Regions from separate parts of the Homo sapiens genome. Here region 2 is linked to region 1. Evidence: promoter capture Hi-C in human tissues and cell types (Jung and others, 2019). All regions are on one chromosome and are shown on one strand. Each heading gives the region's core, a stretch centred on a gene start or on the middle of the fragment in contact. The rest is flanking DNA. Distances are from core to core; before and after follow the strand shown. Region 1 holds the start of CACTIN (cactin, spliceosome C complex subunit). Region 2 overlaps ZFR2 (zinc finger RNA binding protein 2).

What was found. Contacts are between HindIII fragments. The study calls those that stand out against the background at their distance.
Region 2: a fragment that was not itself captured here is called in contact with the fragment with the promoter of CACTIN in region 1 in 2 of the 25 tissues and cell types used here (mesendoderm cells and pancreas).

Annotation. Positions count from the first base shown.
Region 1 is chr19:3,624,384-3,630,252 of GRCh38, reverse strand. It overlaps CACTIN (cactin, spliceosome C complex subunit), which reads left to right and starts at 3,463. Exons shown (of 10, transcript NM_001080543.2): 1 at 3,463-3,657. The coding sequence starts at 3,491. It overlaps PIP5K1C (phosphatidylinositol-4-phosphate 5-kinase type 1 gamma), which reads left to right. Exons shown (of 18, transcript NM_012398.3): 18 at 1-70. RefSeq lists enhancers at 3,130-3,499, 3,389-3,950, 3,951-4,512, 4,513-5,074, 5,301-5,800 and 1 more. The HindIII fragment of the contact is 17,013 bases long and covers 1-5,869 here.
Region 2 is chr19:3,813,238-3,819,106 of GRCh38, reverse strand. ZFR2 (zinc finger RNA binding protein 2) reads left to right here. Exons shown (of 19, transcript NM_015174.2): 12 at 1-62; 13 at 2,262-2,433; 14 at 5,149-5,287. Among named protein-coding and RNA genes, the nearest start is that of MATK, 30 kb to the right of the region's middle. RefSeq lists silencers at 145-345, 382-676. The HindIII fragment of the contact is 9,278 bases long and covers 1-5,869 here.

The DNA of each region.
Region 1 (5,869 bases), core at 2,214-4,713:
TTCCTCGCCCACCTACCCCCGCCACACCCCGTCTTTTTAGAGATCTCTCTAATAAATCGGGTAATAAGCATCCGCCTGTTTGCCTTTCTGTGGGTTCCGGAGGTCTGGTTGGGAGTCTGAGGAGTGACTTTGTTCTGTGTTTTTTGTTTTCTGTTTTTGTTTGTTTGTTTGTTTTCTTTTTAAGAGATGGAGTCTCGCTCTCCACCCAGGCTGGAGTGCAGTGGCGCAATCTCAGCTCACTGCAAGCTCCGTCTCCTGGGTTCACACCATTCTCCTGCCTCAGCCTCCTGAGTAGCTGGGACTACAGGCGCCCGCCACCACGCCCAGCTAATTTTTTATTTTTAGTAGAGGCAGGGTTTCACCATGTTAGCCAGGATGGTCTCGATCTCCTGACCTCGTGATCCGCCCACCTCGGCCTCCCAAAGTGCTGGGATTACAGGTGTGAGCCACCGCACCCAGCCTGTGTTTTGTTTTTTTTTTTTTTGAGATGGAGTCTCGTTCTGTTGCCCAGGCTGGAGCGCAGTGGAGTGATCTCAGCTCACTGCAACCTCTGCCTCCCGGGTTCAAGCCATTCTCCTGCCTCAGCCTCCCGAGTAGCTGGGACCACAGGCGCCCGCCACCACACCTGGCTAATTTTTTTGTATTTTTAGTAGAGACGGGGTTTCACCACATTGGCCAGGCTGGTCTCAAACTCCTGACCTCAAAGGACCCACCCGCCTCATCCCAAAGTGCTGAGATTACAGGCGTAAGCCACCGTGCCTGGCCTGAGGACTGACTTTGAATCTTAGAGAAGAGAGAAACCTTTGTGAGATTGATGCTGATACCAGTAATAGGACCCAAACACCTTACCAGCTGTGAACCTTCTTCAGGTCCCAGTTCAGCTCAGAAAACATTTTATTGTTTCCAACATCTTTGCAGCCCCCCAAAGTTTGTATTTGTTCTGCTAGAGCGGTTCCAATTCAGTCACGTTTGGACCCCTTGAAGGGAACACATTTATCTTGGACTCCCAGGTTGAGAAACTACATTGAAAACAAGATCCTGGCCAGGCGTGATGGCTCACACCTGTAATCCCAGCTACTCGGGAGGCTGAGGCCAGAGAATTGCTCCAACCTGGGAGGCAGAGTTTGCAGTGAGCTGAGATCATGCCCCTGCACTCCAGCCTGGGCGACAGAGCAAGAAAATGTCTCAAAAAAAAAAAAAAAAAAAAAGTAAGATCCTGTCTGTAAGGGAGCCGTTGGAACGTTTCAGCACAGCTGTTTTATAAACTGAACATGGAGGTGATCTCGTTGTTTTAAGTTTGTTTTTTGTTTTTTTGTTTTTTTTTTTTGAGATGGAGTCTCGCTCTGTCACCCAGGCTGGAATGCAATGGTACGATCTCAGCTCACTGCAACCTCCGCCTCCCAGGTTCAAGCAATTCTTCCTCGGCCTCCTGAGTAGCTGGGACTACAGGTGCCTGGCACTACACCCGGCTAAATTTTGTATTTTTAGTAGAGGTGGGGTTTCACCATGTTGACAAGGCTGGTCTCGAACTCCTGAACTCAGGTGATCCACCCACCTTGGCCTCTCAAAGTGCTGGGATTACAGGACTGAGCCACCGCGCCCGGCCCATGCAAGTGATCTCTTAATGTGCTGCAAGGATGCATCTGAATTTTGGGAAGCACAGGGTCAGGCCTTCGCTTTGTTTTGGGCCATCCCATCAGCATGACAACCCACATCTCAGGACCGGCAAGGTCATCATCTAGAGCGGCAGGAGATGGTCTCTTCTTCCTCTGTAAGGTTCCATCCTTGCCTTAACACCAAGCAAAGCATACAAAGCCAGCGTTTACGGGGATGTTATGAAGTTGTATTCCAAGATAAACGTTTTATTTATTTATTTATTTATTTATTTATTTATTTGAGACGGGGACTTGCTCTGTCGCCCAGGTTGGAGTGCAATGATGCGATCTCAACTCACAGGAACCTCTGCCTCCTGGGTTCAAGCGATTCTTCTGCCTCAGCCTCCCGAGTAGCTGGAATTACAAGCATGCCACCATGCCCAGCTAATTTTTGTATTTTTAGTAGAGACGGGGTTTCGCCATGTTGGACAGGCTGGTCTCGAACTCCTGACCTCAAGATCCACCTGCCACGGCCTCCCAAAGTGTTGGGATTACAGGCATGAGCCACTGCACCCCACTCAAGATAAACATTTTAATTTTCTTTTTTTTTTTGAGACGGAGTCTTGCTCTATCGCCGAGGCCATAGCGCAGTGGCACGATCTCGGCTCACTGCGACCTCCGCCTCCCAGGTTCAAGCAATTCTCCCTGCCTCAACCTCCCAAGTAGCTGGGATCACAGGTGCATGCCACCACACCCGGCTAATTTTTGTATTATTTAGTAGAGATAGGGTTTCACCATATTGGCCAGGCTGGTCTTGAACTCCCGACCTCAGGTGATCCGCCCGCCTCGGCCTCTCAAAGTGCTGGGGTTACAGGCGTGAGCCACCGTGCCCGGCCAAGATAAATATTTTAAAAGTTAGCTTAAATTACTATCATCCTCCATAAACAGGCCTTCCCAGCCCCGAGTGGTTAGAACTGCACGGGGTGGTGGTAGCAGCCACCATGGGCTAGGGGAGCTCAGGATGGGACATCAGCGTCTTCTAGGTCTCTGGCCTCCAGCCTTGCCCCTGAAGTCCGTCCTCCCACGCCAAACTTGTTTCAACAGCAAGTCCCCCAAACCCTGCTCACAACCCTCCCACGGGTCCCCAGCACCCACACCACAAAGCTGGGCAGCCTGGGTTGAGAAGGCAAGTGTTAAGAGTGACTTTCCCTCTCTGAGCCTCAGTTTCCCCGTCTCTAAAATGGGTTGATGGGGGAATACAGGGAGTTATCAAAGTTTTTGTTTTTTTTTAAAGCTTAACTCCCAAAATACATAGGTGTTCATTGGCAGGTGGTGGAGCATAACGATGACTCTCATAAGAAGGCTTTTCAGTTTCTGTCCCCGCGCCCGCCCTCTGCCCTCTGGAGCTGCCTGGCACCTAACACCTTCCCGGTTCCTCGCCTTTCGGGGACCTCGCTCCCCGGACACGCCTCTCCTCGGCCACGCCCCTGGCCACGCCAATGAAGCGCTACTTCCGACCTAGACCCGCTTCTTATTGGTCTCGCCTCGGCAGGCCCCTCCCTGCACAAGGTTCCTAGTTTGCCCTTGCCCCGCCCACAGTTTCTCAGGCCCCCTGAGGCGTGGGGACCCGCCTAGGGCTGCCTCCAGCACTGCCTGAAAGGAGACTCCGCCACCCTGGAGGCAACAATCCCACTGGAGTCAATCACGCGGTCCACATTTGCAGACGTAGTGGAAAGTCTGGGGTGTCGGAGTCCTTGCGGGCTGGGGCGACGGGATGGGTTGCTCTTTCCCGGCTCAGGCGCAAACGGGGCAGCCTGGAGAGCGCCGTGGGCGAGGAAGGCCCCCAGCGCAGGCTTCGGCTATTGGTGTTGGTGCCGCGGCCACTGGCCCAGCCGATGGGTCGGGACACACGCTCGCGCTCGCGGTCCGCGGGTCGCCGGGGCCGAAGGCGGCAGAGTCAGAGCGGGAGCCGAAGTCGGAGCAGGAGCCATGGGCGGCGAAACCGACGGCGCCGGGAGGACGAGGGACGGCGCAGACGGAGGCGGCGGAGCCGGGAGCGCAGGTGGGGTCGCTGCGGGAGCAGCGCTGGGGATCCGGCTCCTACCTCAGGAGCGCCCGACCGAGGGTTGGAGATCCCGGGGAACCGGGAAACCCCCGACTTACTCGGGGAGGGCTTCCTAGAGAAGGGGACAATTGACCACCGGTTGGAATTAACCTGGCAGCGGAAGGAAGGCGAGAGGCGTTCCAGGCAGGGGACCGGGCGGTTGGAGGGACAGCCCGGAGCCGGGTGAGCGAGGCGGCGGGGAGGTAACGAGAGATCAGATCATATCATATCGAGCCCTGTGTGCTCAGCACATTAGATCTTGGCTATTAGTCGGAGGGAAATGGAGAGTCTTGAGAGGAGTTTGGGTAGGGGAGTGACGTGGACTGACTTAACTCTGCATACTTTCTGGCTTTGAGGTGGAGAAGGGATGGAGCGGGGTAGGCAGGAGCGGCATCAGAGTAGGACGGCACAATTGTCCAGACAGTAGATGATGGCAGTCTCGATGGGAGGGAGGCTGTAGTCAACCACAGCGGGCAAAGTGCGTAGATTTCAGAGGGATTCTGGAAGTAGAGGAGACAACATTTGCTAATGGAGGTGGGCTGTGGGAGGGAAAAAGACTCGGTGTCAGCTGGCAGGACTCACAGCTGATTCCTAGTGCCTGAATCTCAGCTTCCCCATGGTCCTTTTCTTCTGGAGATGGGGCACTTGGTCGGATTTGCCTTGAGCCGGCTCCAGTACAGAGAAACCAAAATGGGGACAGGGACTGATTCCCAGACCGGGGCCCCAGTGCTGGCTCAGCCCCTTCGTGGCTGACACTCAGGCCAGTCTTGCCCCGCTCTGGGCCAAGTTCACTCATCGGTTGTTGGTTTTTTTGTTTGTTTGTTTTTGAGACGGAGTCTTGCTCTGTCGCCCAGGCTGGGGTGCAGTGGCACGATCTCGGCTGTTACCTCTGCCTCCTGGGTTCAAGCGATTCTTCAGCCTCAGCCTCCCCGGTAGCTGGGGTTACAGGTGCTTGTTGCCACACCCAGCTAATTTTTGAATTTTTTCGTAGAGCTGGGATTTCTCCATATTGGCCAGGCAGGTCTTGAACTCCTGGCCTCAAGTGATCTGCCCGCCTCGGCCTCCCAAAGTGCTGGGATTACAGGCGTGAGCCACCGCGCCTGCCCATAAGTCTTGTTAATGTCATCTTTGTGTTTTTTCGCCTACCATTTTCTGGTATTGGAATTATTCACAATAATTTGCCACTCTAGATATGTAATTAGAATTAATGTTCACGAAAATTCAGTTGAACTTGTGGCCAATATTTAAGGGCTCTGCAATGATTGGTTTCAACATAGTTTAGATTTTTTTGACATGAGCTTAATGGGTAGAGCATTTAACAAAATATTTGGCAGTTCTCTGTGTACAAAGACCCCTAAACGTGACTGAGCGCAGTGGCTCACATCTGTAATCCCAACACTTTGGGAGGCTGAGACAGGAGGCTTGCCTGAGCCCAGGAGTTCAAGACCAGCCTGGGCAACATAGCAAGACCCCTCTGTACAAAAAAATGTAAAGAGTTACCTGGGCGTGGTGGTGTGTGCCTGTAGTCCCCGCTACTCAGGAGGCTGAGGCGAGAGGATGGCTTGAGCCCAGGAGGTCAAGGCTGCAGTGAGCTCTGATCATGCACTCCAGCCTGTGTGACAGAGGGAGACTCTGTCTCTAATAAATAAAAATATAGACCTTGTCTCTAGTAGACTCTGTGTCTAGTAGACCTTGTCTCTAATAAATAAAATTAAAGGCCCCTGAACCACCCCTGAGGTTGTGCATCTTCCATTCCCTGCGCTCTACTCTGTTAACTCCTGTCCATCCTGTGGGACTAGTTCAAATACCACTTCCATCTAGGAAGCCCTCCCTTGACAGCCTAAATGTGTTCGGGTCCCCTGGTTCGTACCCTTATAATTCCTGCGCCACCAGCCCCAGCCACCTCCCTGCCCGCGCCTCCTCCCTCTCCCCCACACTCTGTCTCAGCCATACAGCCTCCTTGTTGTTCTTAGAATGTGGCAGGTCAGTGCCTGCCTCTAGGCCCTCGCTCTTGCTCTGCCTCGAGCACTCTCCCTCCGAATCCACCCATCGCTGCCTCCCCACTCCCTCCAGACCTTGGCTCAGTGTCAGCTCCTGAGAGAGCCCCTCTCTGACCTCGGCCCTGCAGCCCCAGCCCCTGTGCTCGGCATTGCTACTCTTTGTGGCTTCT
Region 2 (5,869 bases), core at 2,670-5,169, 190 kb before region 1:
GTGTCCGACACACTGGCCGAGGAGGACCGGGGCCGCCGAGAGGAAGAGGGTGACAAGCGCAGGTCATTGGAGATCCCCTTCCCCAGGGCCCGGCTCTCAGCCAGGACAGAGGTCAGCTCCTCGGGACGAGACCCTGCAGGAACCCCTAGCTCTGATGGGCCTGGAGCCGTCGGTGGCCCGCGGCAGCTTTCCAGCCCCAGGAGTAGGAAGTTCCCCAGGTCTCAGAGCTGGAGCTTCTCGGCACTGAACGAGGCTGGTTTGCAGCGGGTGATCCGTGCTGTTCTAATGCCTTAGCATTCCCTTTTGCTATTGAAGGCGCATCTAAAAATAGTTCACAAGGGACTGACAGTCTCTGTAAACCTCAGTTTCCTCATTGGCAAAAGGAAAAGCTGAGCGTGATTCTGACGGACTTCTCCGCCTTGGGGAGTGACTGAGTAATCAGAGTAGTTCATGTCACTGAGTGCCCGTGTGAATCAGCTCCCAACCCCTGTGATTCTTAGGAAGTGAGAAAGTCCCCACGTCGTCTAAGTAATTGCCATGGAGATAACTCATCTGAGCGGGAGTTACCTTTTTTCAAAGTCCTTTCCTGCTCTGGCAGCTGCTGTTTGTTGTTGTTGTTTTTTTGTTTGTTTTGTTTTTTAAGAAACAGATCTCACTCTGTTACCCAGGCTGGAGGGCAATGGCGCGATCAGAGCTCACTGACCCTCAGACCCCCGGGCTCAAGCTGTCCTCCCGCCTCAGCCTCCCGAGTAGCTGGGACTGCAGGCGCCCACCACCACACCCAGCTAATTGTTAACTCTTTGTAGCAGGGAGAGGTCTCGCTATGTTAGCCAGGCTGGTCTTGAACTCCCGGGCTCAAGCGATCCTCCCACCTCGGCCTCCCAAAGTGCCGGGATTACGGGTTCACTTTCCTCTTTGAATGCTTCTCTATTGTGGTAAAATCCACATCACACAACACTGAGCATTTTAACCTGTCTAAGTGCACAGTTCAGGGGCATGAAGCACGTTCACACGTGCAAACTACACCCCTGTCCATCTCCACAGCTGTCTCATCTTCCCAAACAGAAGCTCTGTCCCAATTAAGCAAACTCCTCTTTTTGTTTCGTGCACCCATGCGTGCCCGCCCTGTCTCTGTGGATTGGCCTGTGCTGGACAGTTCATAGAAATGGGGTCGCACACCGTGTGGCCTTTTGTGTCTGGCTGATCCACTTGGCCTGAGGGCTTCCTTTTGCTGGAGCACAGAGCTCCATATAGGAAATGTGAGCCTTGCACCTGTGGGTTGCAAAGTGTCCCAATACAAGGAGCGCCCAGGAAGCTGCCCTCTCCTTTTTTTTTTTTTTTTTTCTTTTTTGAGACTGAGTCTTGCTCTGTTGCCCAGGCTGGAGTGCAGTGGTGCGATCTCGGCTCACAGCAACCTCTGCCTCCCAGGTTCAAGTGATTCTCCTGCCTCAGCCTTCCAAGTACTGGAACTACAGGAATGTACCACCACACCCAGCTAATTATTATTATTATTATTATTATTATTATTATTATTATTATCATTATTTTGAGATGGAGTCTTGCTCTGTCTCCCAAACTGGAGTTCAGTGACACAATCTCGGCTCACTGCAACCTCCATCTCCTGGGTTCAAGCGATTCTCCTGCCTCAGCCTCCCAAGTAGCTGAGATTACAGGCACCCGCCACCATGCCTGGCTAATTCTTATATTTTTATTAGAGATGGGTTTTCGCCATGTTGGTCAGGCTGGTCTCAAACTCCTGACCTCAAGTGATCTGCCCACCTCGGCCTCCCAAAGTGCTGGGATTACAGGCGTGAGCCACTGCGCCCGGCCTAGGTTTGTGAATTTTCTTAACCCCCGTGAAGCAAGAGCAGAAAGCAGCCTTGCTTTCTGTCCTCTCTGGAACCCATGTGGAGCCGAAACAACAGGGTGACAGAGTCCGTGAACGCGGGAGCCACCAGACCTCGCGGGGCGGGCCTGGGGCTTAGCGTTTGCTCACAAGGAAGGAAAATGTGGGTTTGGCCACGCGTCCCGGCTACTCCGAGGCATGCCCGGTGACAGCACCTCCGAGATCGATCTCACGGTGTCTCATTTCATCCCGCAAGCGCCTCCGACAGAGCGGCCTGGTCCCATTTCATGGATGAGGATGCCGAGGCACAGAGAGGCTCTGTAACTTGCAGGGTCCCCGTAGCTCAGGAGGGAGGCAGCTGGGGTACCCCGCGTCTCTCCGCTGATGGCGCACGTCTGTGGCTTTGTCCCCACAGCAGCGTTGCCCCCCAGACTCGGGTCCTGAAAGGCGTCATGCGAGTAGGCATCCTGGCGAAAGGCCTCCTCCTGCGTGGGGACAGGAACGTGCGCCTCGCTCTGCTCTGCTCCGAGAAGCCCACGCACAGCCTGCTGCGGAGGATCGCCCAGCAGCTGCCCCGGCAGCTCCAGGTAAGGTCAGGGCCCTGCTCATCGCTGCTTCTGGCGTCTGGCTGCCAGCCCTCTCCCCGCAGCCCCTTGCGCTCCTAGATGGCAGGGGACCTTTGTTACTACACAACTTTAAGGTACAAGAAGCATTAAGCCAGGCGCAGTGGCTCACGTCCGTAATCCCAGCACTTAGGGAGGCTGAGGCAGGTGGATCGCTTGAGGTCAGGAGTTTGAAACCAGCCTGGCCAACATGGTGAAACACCGTCTCTACTAAAAATACAGAAATTAGCCAGGCCTGGTGACATGTGCCTGTAATTCCAGCTATGTGGGAGGCTGAAGTGGGAGAATCACTTAAATCCCGGAGGCAGAGGTTGCACTGAGCTGAGATTGCACTGCTGCCCTCCAGCCTGGGCGACAGAGCGAGACTGGGTCTCAAAAAAAAAAAAAAAAAAAAGATACAAGAAGAAGCATCGCTGTTAGAAACCAACCAGTTTGTTAGCCAGGCATGGTGGCTCACACCTGAAATCCCAGCACTTTGAGAGGCTGAGGCAGGAGGATCACTCGAGTCCAGGAGTTTGAGACCAGCCTGGGCAACATAGTGAGAACCTGTATCTGCAAAAAACTTAAAAATTAGCTGAGCATGGGCCAGCCGGGGTGGCTCACACCTGTAATCCCAGCACTTTGGGAGGCTGAGATGGGCAGATCACGAGGTCAGCAGATCGAGACCATCCTGGCTAACACGGTGAAACCCCGTCTCTACTAAAAATACAAAAAAAAAATTAGCCAGGCGTGGTGGCGGGCGCCTGTAGTCTCAGCTACTCGGGAGGCTGAGGCAGGAGAATGGCATGAACCCGGGAGGCAGAGGTTGCAGTGAGCCGAGATCGCGCCACTGCACTCCAGCCTGGGCGACAGAGCGAGACTCCGTCTAAAAAAAAAAAAAAAAAAAATTAGCTGAGCATGGCGGCATGTACCTGTGGTCCCAGCTACTCAGGGAGCTGAAGCGGGAGAATCCCTTGAGCCCAAGAGTTCGAGGCTTCAGTGAGCTGTGATTCACTACTGCACTCCAGCCCGGGCAACAGAGCAAAACTCAGTCTCAAAAGAAATTCAAAAAGAGTAAATGATGATGAAAGCTGCACAGAAAACATTCGCAGCAATGGCGACTAGGAAGCCGTAAGAAAAGCAAAAACCCAATTTCAATTTTAGGGCTGTGAAATGTCAACTGAATTTTTTTCCTCTAGAGAATTTTCATATACTCTTCTCATACTGAAGAATTTACATTGATCATCTTAGGTTTAAAAAGAAAAATCGGGCCTGGCGTGGTGGCTCATGCCTGTAATCCCAACACTTTGGGAGGCCAAGGCAGGTGGATCACCTGAGGTCCGGAGTTCGAGACCAGCTTGGCCATCATAGTAAAACCCCATCTGTACTAAAAATACAAAAATTAGCCGGGCATGGTGGTGGGCGCCTGTAATCCCAGCTACTCAGGAGGCTGAGGGAGGGGAACCATTTGAGCCCTGGAGGCAGAGGTTGCAGTGAGCAGAGATAGTGCCACTGCACTCTAGCCTGGGCCACAGAGTAAGACTCTGTCTTAAAAAAAAAGAAAGAAAGAAAAATGAAAAATCAGTCCCCAGAGTCGTTCCTTCTTCCTGAGCGTCTGTCACCATCCCTGGGAAAACTCAGCCTTACTCCTTTGACTTTTCCAGTGGGCACTGGATGCCCAGTGGATGGGCAGTGCCTGGTCGGGGAGACAGTGTTCCCCATAGAATGACCAGCACCTGCAGAGGCCAAAAAGCAGGAGGCCCAGAGCAAGGAGGGGTGGGCACGAGGGAATGAGGGGGCACCTAGATCAAGCCAGGCCTGAAGGCCGTACCAGGAGGTAGGATTGCATTCTTAGGGAAGTGGGGAGGCTGGAGGGTTTTGAGCAGGGGAGTGACATGCTCTGACTTCAATAATTGCATCTCACATTTCCTGCACACCTACAACATGACAGTGGCCACAACATGATAGATACAGCCCCTGCTTTCTGGAAAACTTGCAGCCTGGTGGCAAAGACAATAACTGAGCCCCATGAGAATGTATAAGGCTGTGGGGAAGCTGACAACATCCACCCCAGTAATGTCAACGGAGCCCCCTGGGGGCTGCCTTGCAGCAGGGAGGCCCTGAGAAGGGAAGGGATGGAGGATGGGGAGAGAGGTGCGTTTCAGGTGGGAGGCCAGGCTCAGGTGTGAGCACAGGCCTCATGGAGGGTGATGACCATGGACAGGAAGACCAGACTGTGACACAGACCTCTTGAGCTATGTCCTGCTCACAGGAGATGGTGGCGTCTCATTATGGTTTTAGTTTACTCCTCCCTGACTATGGGGTAATGTGTGTCACTGTGTAAAAAGGGCCATTTGTGTTTCTTTTTCTGCCAGGTATCTGTTATTTCACTCACCAATTTTTTTATTGGATTGCTGGTCTTCTTGTTATTGAATTACAGGTATTCTTTACATATGGAGGCTCCTTGCATCACATGATCTGTTGTCTGTACATATCTCTACATGTGTGCACTCCTGGAGGGCTGCGGCTGTGTCTTGGTCACTTGGAGGTTCCAGACACAGGGCACAGGGCCCGGCACCCAGGCAGCAAGTGTGGGAGGCCCGACGGGATTAATTTACACACACCAACCACATCCTGGCTGATTTACACATGAATCTGGGCTGCAGTAAGGTGGCCTTGTGTTGTATTTACCCCTCCCAGATGGTGACCGAGGATGAGTATGAGGTCTCCTCCGACCCTGAAGCCAACATTGTCATCTCCTCCTGTGAGGAGCCCAGGATGCAGGTCACCATATCTGTCACCTCACCTCTGATGCGGGAGGACCCCTCCACAGACCCAGGTGCGGCCCAGCCCTTCCTTCCAACCACTGTCCCCCTCACGCTTCCCCAGGGCGCTCCCCACACCCAGGCCTGGGGCAGCGTCCGCCTCTGCCCTGAGCAGGAAATGCCACAGCAGCCACGCTCCAGCACTGCTGTCCCCCTGAGGATTCCATGGGTCACACAAGAGCTGGGTCTCCGGGCAGCAGAGGCGGCGAGTCGGTGACAGCATCAGATGGGCTCAGAGCCTGGCTGCAGGGGCCTTGCTCGGGCAAGCGACACCGTGTCACCTCCCTTGCCCTTACCCAGGGCTGGCACCTGCTTCTCAGGCCCTGGTGACACCAGCCCTGGCGGCAAAGGACAGGTCTGAGCCATTTCCCCTGGGTCACGGCAGAAGCTCAGTTTGACTCTGTCCATCAGTCACCACAGTCCCAGTGCCACTGATTAGGAATGTAGGGAATCGGGGGTCTTAAAGCCAGACCTGCCAGGCCTGGGAGGGTGGGTGAGGGGCCGGGCCAGGCTAGGGGCAGCGAGGGTCTTGGCCAGCGGCCACAGCGAAGACAGGCATCAGTAACACACTGCACGTCTGTGCTCCCGAAGTCTCA